4 separate regions of the Homo sapiens genome follow, and regions 1, 2 and 4 are each linked to region 3. The links are contacts of gene promoters, found by promoter capture Hi-C in human tissues and cell types (Jung and others, 2019). All regions are on one chromosome and are shown on one strand. The core of a region is centred on a gene start or on the middle of the fragment in contact, and the rest is flanking DNA. Distances in the headings are between cores, read along the strand shown.

Region 1 (3,438 bases), core at 534-3,033, 940 kb before region 3:
AGATGCTCAATAAATGGTGCAGTGAGAGCTGGAGGGCCTGAATAAATGGGGGTATTGGGGTGCTGATAAGCCAGGGTTTTGCATCATCCAATGACTGGCTGGAATGGAATATGAGGTCCTACTCCAGGGTCCAGCTGTAAGGGTGGTTGGCCGGTAGGTGGGGGCTTTTGGGACTTCTCCAGGCCTCACCTGCCTCTCTGGTCCCCCAGCGAGCCCCCGCTTCGGAGGAGGAGTTCCAGTTTCTGCGCTGCCAGCAATGCCAGGCGGAAGCCAAGTGCCCGAAGCTGCTGCCTTGTCTGCACACGCTGTGCTCAGGATGCCTGGAGGCGTCGGGCATGCAGTGCCCCATCTGCCAGGCGCCCTGGCCCCTAGGTGCAGACACACCCGCCCTGGATAACGTCTTTTTCGAGAGTCTGCAGCGGCGCCTGTCGGTGTACCGGCAGATTGTGGATGCGCAGGCTGTGTGCACCCGCTGCAAAGAGTCGGCCGACTTCTGGTGCTTTGAGTGCGAGCAGCTCCTCTGCGCCAAGTGCTTCGAGGCACACCAGTGGTTCCTCAAGCACGAGGCCCGGCCCCTAGCAGAGCTGCGCAACCAGTCGGTGCGTGAGTTCCTGGACGGCACCCGCAAGACCAACAACATCTTCTGCTCCAACCCCAACCACCGCACCCCTACGCTGACCAGGTGAGTAGGCCGGCACAGGGTGGGGTGGTGCATCCAAGTACCAGGTAGAGGGCGAGAGGAGCAAAGATCCAAAGAGTCACACAGCTGAGGACAAGGAGCTTCTGGGGCCTTGCAACTCTAAATGTGGTCTGCAGATATGCAGTGTCCGTGTTGATGACCACAATTTATGCTGCCAGTCCCCACGCAGGTGGATAGTAAGTTTCCAGTTTCCTCCTGTAATAAATAATGCTGCAGAATCATCTTTGCATCTTTATCCAGTAACTTCTTTAGGATAAATTTTTAGAAGTGCCACTGCTGGGTGTAGGGGGACGGGAATTCTACATTTGATACATGTTACCAAACTGCCCTTTAGAATTTAGTGGAATTTTCCGAGAGCACTGACACGGAATCTCAGTAAGGCTGGATTCTAGGATCAGAGACAAGTAGTTAGTTTCTGTCTGAAAAGTTGAAACCATTAACACCAGGCAGCGCTATCTGAGAATGTCTGTATGGGGAAAAAAAATCACATCCAGTTGTAATTATTTTTATTAAACAGATTTTAACTCAGTTTTTTAATAGGTAATACATTCGTACAGTTCACGAACAAAATTTGTAAAGAGGAGAGAGAGAGTGCAATCTTCTGTCCATGCCCAACTGCCTAATTCCCACCACTTCTCCCTCTTCCCATCCACAGGTAGCCATTGTTACTAGTTTTGAATGTTTCTTCTGAGAGTTTCTTTACGAATATATATGCAGGTAGGAGCAATCTTATCAGGTCCTATTTTCCCTCTTTTAGCCAAAAAGGTAGCATAACTATGTGAACTTTTCACCATTAGCAATAGATTGTTCATAGAAGGCGCTTCTTGGTTCTTAGAGATCCACTTGCAAAATGAAAGCATTTTTCGCTGGTTTTTGACAACTCAGAACTATATATGGCTAAACCACATATTTGCTGAACTACATATCTGCTAAACTGACTGTGATTTGTTTCCTGCTTTAGGATAAACTTCCCACACTATCAGAATAAGCTTTCCCCTCCGACTCCTCAACAGCTGGTATCACCACGTTTCTTAGCTTATTGTAAAGGTTGAGTGGCTTTCCACTTGTTTATTGGCCATTGTGTTTCTGCATTTGCGAGTGGCCTGTTTAGGTCCTTTGCCTGTTGTTGTTGTTGTTTCCGTTGAGGAATTAAGGGACTAATTAAAGAATTCAGGAACAAATTCCTCGAAAGAAAAAAATGTATGCATTTCTTTTGCTCTTACAATTTATGCAGTTTTAAAACTTACATATTTATTGGATTTTGATTGAAATTGCAATAAATTAGGAGAAATTGGCTTTATCTCTGGTTCTATCTTTTGGATTTAAAAAATTTTTTTTAATTTTTTTTTTTTTTTTTTGAGATGGAGTCTCGCTGTGTCACCCAGGCTGGAGTGCAGTGGCGCGATCTCGGCTCACTGCAACCTCCACCTCCCGGGTTCACGCCATTTTCCTGCCTCAGCCTCCCAAGTAGCTGCGATTACAGGTGCACATCATCATGCCTGGCTAATTTTTTGGCATTTTTAGTAGAGACAGGGTTTCACTATAATGGTCAGGCTGGTCTCCTGACCTCAGGTGATCCACCTGCCTCGGCCTCCCAAAGTTCTGGGATTACAGGCATGAGCCACCATGCCCAGCCTTATACTAATTTCTTAATGAATTTGTAAGCTTTCATGTTTTGAACGTGATAATGCAGCCATCCCACGGGATCCATGGGAGTCTGTTTCAAATTCATAGATGCTCAAGTCTCTGATATAAAATGGCATAGTATTTGTATATAACCTCTACACATCCTCCTGTATACTTTATTTTTTATTTTATTTTTATTTTTTGAGACGGGGTCTTGCTCTGTCGCCCAGGCTGGAGTGCAGTGCTGCACTCGTGGCTCACTGCAGCCTCAATCTCTTGGGTTCAAACAATCCTCCCACCTCAGCCACCAGATTATACAGGACTGCAGGTGTGCACCACCACACTCAGCTAATTTTTAAATTTTTTGTAGAGACAGGGTTTCACGACATTGCCCAGACTGGTCTTGAGAACTCTTGGGCTCAGGCAGCAACCCTCCCTAGGCCTCTCAAAGTGCTGGGATTACAGGTGTGAGCCACTGTACCCATCCCCTCCTGTATACTTTAAGTCATCTCTAGATTACTTATAATGCCTAATACAATGTAAATGCTATGTAAAGAGTTGTTTTACTATATTTTTGAATTTGTATATTTTTTTATTGTGGTACTTTTTTAATTGATTTTTTTTCGCCTGAATATTTTTGATCCAAGATTTGTTGAATCCACGGGTGCGTAACCTGCAGATACTGAGGGCCAACTGTACATATAAATTGTTTAGCGTAGTGCCTGGCACATATTAAATACTCAGTGAATGTTAAAATTCTATTATAATTTCTCTGCTCTAGAACAATTTGAAGAATATAAGAAATTTAGGCTTATAAAAGTTTTTTGAAAAACCATCTTGGAACTGGTGCCTTTTTTATAGTAGATTTTTGGGAACTTTTCCCATTTTTGCCATGGCATTAATCTGTTTTGGCTCTTGTGTCAGATTTTTGGAAGATTTTCCAGTTCATCCTGAGTTATCTTTCATTATTTAAAAATCTCCTATATGCCTGTAACTATACCCCCTTTTTTTATTTCTGATGTTGTATATTTGTGGTTTAGCAGTCTTTTCAAAGTACTGTACTTTTAGTCTTTCCTTAGATTGCTTACTGATTTTAATGTTTTCCTTCTTTC
Region 2 (3,554 bases), core at 741-3,240, 510 kb after region 3:
CTAACATAAGTACATAAAATAAAAAAGAAAAGACTTTTCACCTATAGTTACCTAAATAGCAAATTCTTTAGGAAACCAAGTTTTTTTGGTTGTTTTTTGAGGCGGAGTTTTGCTCCTGTCGCCCAGGCTACAGTGCAATGGCACCATCTCGGCTCACTGCACCCTCGCCTCCCGGGTTCAAGTGATTCTCCTGCCTCAGCCTCCCCAGTAGCTGGGATTACAGGCGCTTGCCACCACGCCCAGCTTTTTTTTGTATTTTTAGTAGAAACAGGGTTTCGCCATGTAAGCCTGGCTGGTCTCGAACTCCTGACCTCAAGTGATCCACCTGCCTCGGCCTCCCAAAGTGCTAGGATTACAGGCATGAGCCACCGCGCCCGTCCAGGAAACTAAGTTTATATAGCAGAACCATGTGCACAATGAAAGCATTCAAAAATACAACTGTCAGAGATATCGGAGTATTTTATTCAAAGTCTGAGTTCTTAAAAAAAAAAAACAAACCCTACTTTATAAACAGACCAGTTTTGAGATTAAAATGTAAATCCAAACTTTCCTGTTATAAATCTCAGCCTTGTAAAGAGGAGGAGCTTCCACTGCCTTTTCAAGGCTAACTTCGTTTAAAGTCCTAACGCACCGAAACAGACGCCAAGTCTACTACCCACCACCCATTGGCTCAAAGGAAGCCCCGCCCCGTACAGCCACGGTAACTGAACATCAAGGGAACCCCAGGGAAGGTTTTCCCTCCGCCACATTTCTAGTCTCTGATGACTCCCTGCCCCTCCCCTACCATCACCACCGCGGATCTAGGGTTCCAGCACCAGCCACGCACGCTCCTACAAGAGGACCTTGGGCACTTCGCCCCAATAGTTACAACCAAGAGGGGAGTGGGGGTGACCATGCTCCCACTCTCCTGGCTGCACGGTGCCAGACACGCTGCATGGAGCAAAGCGGAGAAAGCAGCTCCGGCACAGGGCCCTTGTGCCCCCAGGCAGAAGGCATGACCCAGCCACAAGAGTAAGTCCTGACACCTCCACAGCTCCCAGTCGGCGGGTGCCCCTCCCTCCCCACGGAGACATAGGGCGGGGCAGATCTAGGCGCCGAGACTCCCAGCCAGACCCGACAGCGGGCTTTCCCTAGCACCTCCTCATTGCCAAGGAGGCGGAAACCCGGGGCCTGGGCGGGGTGCAGGGGGGGACGGCCAAGGGGAGTGGCATCACGGATCAGTACGGCCCCTCCGGCCAACCGGATCCCAAGAAGGCGGAGGAACTCAGACTTCACGCCCCCTCCCTGCCGCGCCCTGAATCTACACGCGGGAGACCCCCCCCTACCCCTCCCCGACCCCAGCAGGCCAGAGCGCGGCCGCCAGCCCGAGGCCCCGCCCACCCCAGGAGGAGGGGAGGGGGTGGTCGGCCGCAAACTGCACTCAGCGCGAAGCCGGCCCCGCCCCTTTCTCCACAATCGCACGCGCGCGCCGGCCCCGCCTCTGAGCGGCGGCGCGAGAGCCCGCCCCCCTCCGCGCGCACCGGGACTACGCTCTCCTCCCCCTCCCGCGCGGAGAGCTACCCCGCTCCGCCCCCCACCCCCCTCACACAACCACACACCTCCCGCCCGTCTGCTCTACGGGAAGCCGAGGAGGTCAGCCCCCCCCCCCCAAAATACACACCCTCGAGTCCGGCGTTACCCGCCACCAGGCTCCCGCCCGGCCCCCGGCCCAGCGTGCTCTCACCGCAAAGCTGCTTCGGCCGCTCGTCACTGCGTGTCCCTCTCAGCGTGAGCCGCGAGCTCAGCAGGGAGGCCCCGAGAACGGCGCGGGGCACAGGCCCGCCGAAGCGGACTGCCAGCTACCTCTCCACTAACGAAGCGGTCACAGGCTCCGGTGCCCAGACTGGGAAGGAGGGAGGGAGGGAGGGAGGGAAACTCCGAGGGGGGAAGGGGAGGGGGGAAGATGGAGAAACCGTCTCCGCCGCCTCTACCGCCGCGGCCGCTTCTCTGTTACCCGGGAAATCCCGCCCACTCCCCCGACCCCGCCCCGCAGAGGGAAGACTCAGCTTCGTTCCAATACAGGACGCAATACCCGCCCGTCAAAGACTCAGCCAACCACCGAGGCCTGTCTTATGATTTTCCCGCCCCTTCCCCCTCGACTGGTAGGGGAGGGGGAGCCGCTCTCCTTCTCCACGCCCCTATTGGCGGGGAGCTTCCCTAACTCAACCCCGCCTATTGGAGACGGACTGCTGAAGCCCACCCCCGAGCCCCAACACTATTGGAGGAAGCAGGGAAGCTCTTCCTGTCTCATTGGAGGACACCACATAACCCGCCCTGCAGCGTCTCAGCCACAGGCCTAACAAGTTGGCTCCCGCCTCCGCTGGTCATCGCATTGGAAGGCTACCCCTGGCTCTCCCACCGCCCCAGTAAGGTAAGTAACCGATGTGGGGTAAAATGTCTGTAAGTGAAACAGGCTCCGCCTACCGCACTGCCGGGCCAGGCCCCGCCCCAAGAGTCGGATTGGATATCTTGGCGCTGGTAGGACCCTCCATTGGCCAGGGCGCCCGTCTAGGAAGGAGCTAATTCCACCCTGCGCGAGGAGGCTGAACCTTAGCAGTCCTTTTGTGGAATGTTTACACTAGAGACTGAAGCTCGGAGTTCCAGGGCCCGAGATAGGAGGGGGAGCGGAGCTCATCAGCGGAGACTCCACATCCTAGGATTTGAAGGAAAGGCAGCCCACCATGGAGGACTCCCTCACAAAAAAAATGAGAGAATGAGAACTCATCCTTCCGTCCAGTTATCTTTACAGTTTACATTCTACACACTGCGTCCTTGTAAACACAAATATCCGGAGCAGCTGGCAACTCCTTTCAGCCAAGTAGAGTACAGAACTAAGGTCTGGAGACCTAGGCGGAGAAGTAAACTCCCTAGAGCTGAATATGCAGTCCTAAGAGGGCGGAGATAACCAAAAGAGAGGCGGGCTCTAACAGCCACCGCCCTGGCAAGCCTCCGGAAGGCGGAGCGTGAGGCACAAGGTACTCACGATCTCCCGGGTGGATCTGGAGGCATCCTCAGAACTGAGAAAGGAGAGGAAAACACCAAAACAGGCCACGGCATAAATTAACATTGGGGACATGCCACACTCAGAGAATGGATAAAATTTCCGTAGTTGGGGACATAAGATAACGGCTGTTCACCTTCTCCTTGGCCGGGAGTGTTAATAGCAGTTCCTGTGCCCTCTCTGTGTAGGTAACAGTGCCTCGAACACACAGTGAGACAAAGTGCTTTCAATTCCTAGTTTGCTTTTATTTATTCACCAAATAGGGCGTGGGCCTGACGCTGATCTTACTTTGGGGGGCGCTCTCTCAGCGCCAGGAGAGGTGACGGGATTACGTTGTTACCGCTCTCCCGAATAAGTAGAACCCTCCTCCCAGAGAGCTAAGACCCCAAGGGACACGCCCAGGGAACCCACGCCTAGGTCCAACACTGTCCTCCCTCTGCAATCCAGCGGAAACGGCCAGGAACGAGCTCTGGCAGCAGGTGGGCCTGACTCCAGCGATGGCTTCGAGCCGCGA
Region 3 (3,436 bases), core at 376-2,875:
GAGGCTGAGGTGGGAGGATCACCTGAGCCCAGGAGTTCAAGCCCAGCCTGGGCAACATAGGGACACTCCGTCTCTAATTTAAAAATAAATAAATAAACAAAAATAAAGTACCCTCCAGCCTTATGGTTCTACGACAAATGATAAAAGTCTAAAATGAATGAAGCAAAACATATTCTTTTTTTTTTTTTTTTTTTTTTGAGACGGAGTCTCGCTCTGTCGGCCAGGCTGGAGTGCAATGGCGCGATTTCGGCTCACTGCAACCTCCGCCTCTCAGGTTCAAGCGATTCTTGTGCTTCAGCCTCCCGAGTAGCTGGGATTACAGGCGCCCACCACCACACCCAGCTAAATTTTTTGTATTTTTAGTACAGACAGGGTTTCACCATGTTGGCCAGGCTGGTCTTGAACTCCTGACCTCAGGTGATCCGCCCGCCTCGGCCTACCAAAGTGCTGGGATTACAGGCATGAGCCACCGCGCCCGGCTGAGTTCTTTTTTTAATTTTTAACTTCAGCATACCCTGAAACGAGTTTCTGAGTTCTTATGTTTAAATACGCATGCATAGTTGCCAGTGATGCAGGTTCAAAAATAAAATATAATATGCATGCATAGAAGCTAAATTTCACGGACCAAGATCGAAGTGCAATTACTGTAATTATTCTATGGTGGTGGACTCAAAACCTCCCAGCACACATATAAAGGGAAGGAAAATAGACAAAAATCAGAAGCACGTCTCATACTCCAGCAATCAGGCTTCTATTACAAAGGGGAAAAAACACGAAGCGTTCCTATGCTTGTAAAACCCAGTATTCCTGTGTCTGTGACATTCAGTTTTCAAAAGAGTGATATTTTTATCATAAGCCCTATCAAAACTCTGGCTATCTTCCGGAGATCAGGAAACAACCACACACTTCCATCTATTTTAAACGTGGAAGAATTAGAACGTGGCACAGCAGACCCTAAAAATGATGGAAAAGGCTGTGAAGGTGACACACTAATCGCTAACCGAGAAATGCCTGATTGAAAAGTATAATCGTGTGTCCCATACGGAAGTATATTGTGTCCTCGGACCCCAAGCGGCGTGCCCGGAGGCTCAATGTCACCTTCGCCGAGGCGCTGCAGGCCGGCGGCGGCCACTCTCGGTCAGGTGGCCGCAGGGTCGGCGCTGGGGCAGGGTCATGGCCCGGGAACCGAAGGGGAGCGCTGCGTCCCCTCCTCGGCGCCCACAGCAGGTCCACATCTGACCTGTCCGCGGTGGCACAGCCAGGAAGTTGCGCGGGGGGAGGCCCCGGGGGCGCGCTTTCAGGTCCTCCACTACTCGAGGCGGCGGGCAGGGCGGCCCGCGGTCACCGGGTTCAGTAACCAGGGTAGGGCAAGGGCTAGGCCGGGGAGAGCCCGCCCCGGAGTGGCAGCGGGGACCCAGGTCACCGCAAGGACACGAGGGCGCGGGCAGTGGCAAGCAGGGGCCTTACCCACGGCGGGGCCGGGGGTCCGGGCGGAGTGCAGGAGGCCTCGAGGGTCGGCCCGGGTGGTTGCGGCCACAGCGCAGCGGCGGAGAGCGGCGCCCAGCATGACGGCGATGGCGGCGCGCGGGCTGAGGACAGAGAGAAGCCGGTGTAAGCTCGCGGGTTGCTCCGGAGCGGGCGGGGGCCGGACAGGCTCACAGCGGGCGGAGCACGTAGGCCCGCCCACTGCGACTCTGGCGCGTGGGCGGGAGGAGCCACCGCGCGGCCGGCGGCGGCGGGGGCTACGGCGGCGCGCTGAGGACAAACTGTTAGCCTCGCGTCCCGCCTTGTCTCTGGTCAGGTGACGTGCAGCTGCCATCCTGTAAGTAGGAATGGAGGCGAGGGAGGAGCAACCGACCGTGATCTTGTTCGAGTCAGGCCCAGGAGGGCACTTAATCACCTCAAAATAGGAATGACAGCAATAACAACAAACTATAATAAAAAATACGTACTTTGCGCCCGGGCGCTGTGGCTCATGCCTGTAATCCCAGCACTTTTGGGAGGCCGAGGCGGGCGGATCACCTGCGGTCGGGAGTTCAAGACCAGCCTGGGCAACATGGAGGAACCCCCGTCTCTACTAAAAATACAAAATTAGCCAGGCGTGGTGGCGCAACGCATGCCCGCAATCCCAGCTACTCGGGAGGCTGAGGCAGGAGAATCGCTTGAACCCAGGAGGAGGAGGTTGCGGTGAGCCGAGATGGTGCCATTGCACTCCAGCCTGGGCAACAAGAGCGAAACTCCGTCTCAAAAAAACCAAACAAAACAAAAACCTACTTTGCTTAGCCCCGCCTTCTCATTGTGGCATAAAATAAAACAGCGAATGGGGGAAAGAATGCCGCTGGACGCGGTTGCTCACGCCTGTAATCCTAGCACTTTGGGAGCCCAAGGCGGGCGGATCACCTGAGGTCGGGAGTTCGAGACCAGCCTGACCAACATGGAGAAACCCCTGTCTCTACTAAAAATGCAAAATTAGCCAGGTGTGGTGGCGCATGCCTGTAATCCCAGCTATTTGGGAGGCTGAGGCAGGAGAATTGCTGGAACCCAGGAGGCAGAGGTTGCAGTGAGTTGAGATCGCACCATTGCACTCCAGCCTGGGCAACAAGATCAAAACTCCATCTCAAAAAAAAAAAAGGCCTATGCGTAAGGGATTTTATTAGTACATATTCTTATATCACAAACCAGCTTGCATAAAAAATGAGTTAAACTACTTCATTTCACAGATTAGGAAAGAGGCTCAGAAATTAGGTTGCTGCTGGCAGTCAAGGATCTTTTCGCCACATCCCCAGTTCTGAGGACTCTCACCTGAATGTTTCCCATCTCCTACAGGAGGGCTCCTGAATCCACGATGGCTCTGAAATAGGGTTGATCAAGTTCCACAGTTGTTGCATCTTATCTCACTAGCTACATCCTAACTTTGAGCCCCTGGGCAGTCAAGGACACCTCTCCCAGGCCTGAAGTATCTGGATGCTGCCCAGAGTTAATGAGACATTGTATTCTGTCTTGCTGTCTCCCATTCTCTATCCCTGGGCACACTGAGGAAAGAAAAGGTGGCCATTCATGTGCCACTTCCTCACTTCAGGCCGACTCTCCAGGGCCTCAGCATCTGCCCTTCTCTTTTTCCTCCCTAGCAGTGTGGCTTCAGTGGGTAGGAACCTGGCGGGGAAAAGGATTTTTAAAATGTTTTCAAAGCACCTGCCCTCACCGTTTCCCACCAACCTAGTGCTGGGGCTTAGAAAACAATACCACAAAGTGAAGGCCTATGAAGCAGTTTCTCTCTGACCTTCTGCCCTCTTGTCTCTTGCCCCTTACTCTCCCTCCAGGCATGCCACAGAAACTAGAATCCCTCCTCCCCAAGAGGGGGTCTAGAAAGTAGAACCCCTTTGTCCCAAAGCCAGCCATAAAGCCTAAAAATATTGCTCTAACCTTTCTCTTTGCC
Region 4 (3,532 bases), core at 5-2,504, 580 kb before region 3:
CTGCACGTATGCACCCAGATGGCCTGAAGTAACTGAAGGATCACAAAAGAAGTGAAAACGGCCTGTTCCTGCCTTAACTGATGACATTACCTTGTGAAATTCCTTCTCCTGGCTCATCCTGGCTCAAAAGCTCCCCCACTGAGCACCTTGTGTCCCCTGCCCGTGCCTGCCAAAGAACAACCCCTTTGACTGTAATTTTCCATGACCTACCCAAATCCTATAAAACGGCCCCACCCCTATCTCCCTTCGCTGACTCTCTTTACGGACTTAGCCCACCTGCACCCAGGTGATTAAAAAGCTTTATTGCTCACACAAAGCCTGTTCAGTGGTCTCTTCACAGGGACACGCGTGAAAGAGAGAACCCTGAAATCTGGCATGCCGGTGAAAGGATAAGAATTTCTTATGAGTCAGTCTCTGGGCTCTTTCCCTCTATGCAAACTGGTTAAATATAAAGTAGAAGTCACGTATATCTCCTCTGTAAGATTTTAAATTAATTGGTTTAATAATAATAAAAGCTTAAGTCAAATATTTTGTCAGAAAAGTAGAAAGTGTAATGCCTTTTAGTTCATGTGACTTTAGCAATAGTTGGGAAATAAAGACAGTTTTCAAGATTATTGGAAAAATACAGTTGTCTTCAAAATGTAAACATGTGGTGTACATTATGTTCAAATACTAGGTTTGCTAAATCCTTTAACATCATAAGCTACTCCTTTGGCTTTTGAAAATTGTTTAACTTGCCTGCTTTCCAGCTAGGTAAGGCCTGGGGACACGTGGAGTTAGCCATGCCCCTAGCTGTGCTGGAAGTAGTCAAACCTTATCAGAAACTTTATCAGAACTTACCAGTTTTTTTTGTTTTTGTTTTTGTTTTGACAGAGTCTCACTCTGTCCCCCAGGCTGGAGTGCAGTGGCGCAATCTCGGCTCACCCACAATCTCCATCTCCCAGATTCAAGCAATTCTCTGCCCTAGCCTCCTGAGTAGCTGGAATTACAGACGCCCGCCACCACACCTGGCTAATTTTTTATTATTATTTTTAGTAGAGATGGGGTTTTACCATCTTGGCTAGGCTGGTCTTGAACTCCTGACCTCATGATCCACCCGCCTCGGCCTCCCAAAGTGCTGGGATTACAGGAGTGAGCCACCGCGCCTGGCCTAACTTACCAGGTTTTATGTTAAAATTCGCCATTATAGGCCAGTCACAGTGCCTCGCACCTGTAATCCCAGCATTTGGGGAGGCCGAGGCAGGTGGATCACCTAAGGTCAGGAGTTCAAGACCAGCCTGACCAACATGGTGAAACCCCCATCTCTAGTAAAAATACAAAATTAGCTGGGCAAGGTGGTGCCTGCCTGTAATCCCAGCTACTGGGGAGGCTGAGGCAGGAGAATCATTTGAACTCAGGAGGCAGAGGTTGAAGTGAGCCGAGATCATGCCATTGCACTCCAGCCTGGGCAACAAGAGTGAAACTCTGTCTCAAAAAAAACAAATTTGCCATTATAACATGCAATTAAGACTACTAGAAACAGTTTTACATGCAAGGTGTATAAGAACAGTAGAAAGTGTTGGGGGTTTTTTTGTGTGTGTGGAAGGTTACAAAAGGTTTTTGCTTCTTTAAAATTTCTGAGTCATCATTTTGGCAAAATAAATAGTTTACGGTAATCTGGAATTCCAAAATCAAACTTCAGTTTCAAAATTGTCTTTCCTAATGCCTGGCTTTCTAGATGAATCAGAGGGCCCCTGAAAACATCCAGAAAAGAGGTAAACAGGATTATTTGACATGTTTAGGTACATGGGATTGACAAAATGATGTTAAATCTTCTTTAGGTTATATTTTTGTGAATAATATATTCCAAAATTGTATGGGATTTCTCAAATTCTAATGTCTAAGTATATGTTACCAATCACAATTATAATTATGTTAAGTTATTGTAAACCACAAAAATGACCAAATTTTCTTGTATAAAGCTACTAACCCACGTAAAACAACAACAACAAAAAATTAATTACATATCAAGAAAAGACTTTCATGTTAAACCAGCTAATACTGAAATTGTTTAAAATAGTTTATAACCTGTCGCTTTGCAGATGCCGTCACTGCCACCAGGAGCCCTGTACTATCAGCCATGGTCAACCCCACCGTGTTCTTTGACATCGCAGTCACGGCGAGCCCTTGGGTCACGTCTCCTTTGAGCTGTTTGCAGACAAGATTCCAAAAACAGCAGAAAACTTTCATGCTCTGAGCACTGGAGAGGAAGGATTTGGTTATAAGGGTTCCTGCTTTCACATAATTATTCCAGGATTTATGTGTCAGGGTGGTGACTTCATATGCCATAATGGCACTGGTGGCAAGTCCATCTATGGGGAGAAATTTGATGATGAGAACTTCATCCTAAGGCATACACGTCCTGGCATCTTGTCCATGGCAAATGCTGGATCCAATACAAACGGTTCCCAGTTTTTCATCTGCACTGACAAGACTGAGTGGTGGATGGCAAGCATGTGGTCTTTGGCAAGGTGAAAGAAGGCATGAATATTGTGGAGGCCACGGAGCGCTTTGGGTCCAGGAATGGCAAGACCAGGAAGAAGATCACCATTGCTGACTGTGGACAACTCTAATAAGTTTGACTTGTGTTTTATCTTAACCACCAGACCATTCCTTCTGTAGCTCAGGACAGCACCCTCCACCCCATTTGCTCGCAGTATCCTAGAATCTTTGTGCTCTCGCTGCAGTTCCCTTCCATGCCTAGCTGGACTGCAGAGTTGAGTTAAAGTTTATGATTATGAAATAAAAACTAAATAACAACAAAAAATTGTTTATAACCAATGCTTGATCCCATATTCCTAGGAAAACAATTAAAGCTTCAGGTATATTTGGTCTTCTGGTCAGCCATTTAAACATTTTATAAAGGGATTTCATTCCATTGTTATTTTCCATGCATGTTTTCTGGTTGTAGAAAAGCTTTCCCATGCAAGAGGGCTGATGTTATAACAGTAGATTATTATGCTACAGTGTATTTTCACCAGATTAAAAAAAAAAGCTTTTTATGGTTTGAATCTGCTGGAAACATCAGAGAAAGACTGTCCTTGCCATCTACACTATAACAAAACTTCAGGACCTTGAACTTTGGGTTCATAATCTCACAACTGAGAAGGGCCCCTCCATGCTCTTGGAGCTGTGCACCCACTGGAATGCTTAAGGTAAAACTAACTAGGGAAATTTCTCCCAAGAAGAAGATGACATCATTGATGTGAACAGCTTTTCCCAAGTTCACAGATTAAGACTTCTACTATCATGAAACTCTTATTTTTGAATATTTTTTCTTGCTTATGCCTTCTACGAACAATAGAAGTGGAAAAGGGGTCTGTTATGTGCACTTATGGGGAACATTTTTATTTGTGAAGGAGTTTGCAGCCAGCCTTATACATGGATAAAGGCCCAATGTATGTAAGAAACTTTAATGGTAGATGTGTTAGCTCATAATCAATCAAAAACAAAAAATTGATTCACTCCACATAACCCACATCGTGGGTTAAAG

The links. Contacts are between HindIII fragments. The study calls those that stand out against the background at their distance.
Region 1: a contact is called between a fragment that was not itself captured here and the fragment with the promoter of COX5A in region 3, in 1 of the 25 tissues and cell types used here (dorsolateral prefrontal cortex).
Region 2: a contact is called between the fragment with the promoter of SIN3A here and the fragment with the promoter of COX5A in region 3, in 2 of the 25 tissues and cell types used here (hippocampus and mesenchymal stem cells).
Region 4: a contact is called between a fragment that was not itself captured here and the fragment with the promoter of COX5A in region 3, in 2 of the 25 tissues and cell types used here (aorta and psoas muscle).

What each region holds. Positions count from the first base shown.
Region 1 is chr15:73,997,795-74,001,232 of GRCh38, forward strand. It overlaps PML (PML nuclear body scaffold), which reads left to right. Exons shown (of 9, transcript NM_033238.3): 2 at 210-682. Among named protein-coding and RNA genes, the nearest start is that of PML, 4.8 kb to the left of the region's middle. RefSeq lists an enhancer at 1-296. The HindIII fragment of the contact is 4,698 bases long and covers 1-3,438 here.
Region 2 is chr15:75,449,700-75,453,253 of GRCh38, forward strand. It overlaps SIN3A (SIN3 transcription regulator family member A), which reads right to left and starts at 1,991. Exons shown (of 21, transcript NM_001145358.2): 1 at 1,724-1,991. RefSeq lists enhancers at 409-1,328, 756-885, 2,596-2,645, 2,875-3,406, 3,407-3,554 and 1 more and silencers at 1,136-1,635, 1,856-1,955. The HindIII fragment of the contact is 10,283 bases long and covers 1-3,554 here.
Region 3 is chr15:74,936,448-74,939,883 of GRCh38, forward strand. COX5A (cytochrome c oxidase subunit 5A) reads right to left here and starts at 1,626. Exons shown (of 5, transcript NM_004255.4): 1 at 1,468-1,626. The coding sequence starts at 1,567. RefSeq lists a silencer at 1,320-1,879. The HindIII fragment of the contact is 14,403 bases long and covers 1-3,436 here.
Region 4 is chr15:74,359,433-74,362,964 of GRCh38, forward strand. The region is part of intron 1 of CYP11A1 (cytochrome P450 family 11 subfamily A member 1); the gene reads right to left. It also overlaps the pseudogene PPIAP46. Among named protein-coding and RNA genes, the nearest start is that of CYP11A1, 6.4 kb to the right of the region's middle. The HindIII fragment of the contact is 5,215 bases long and covers 1-3,532 here.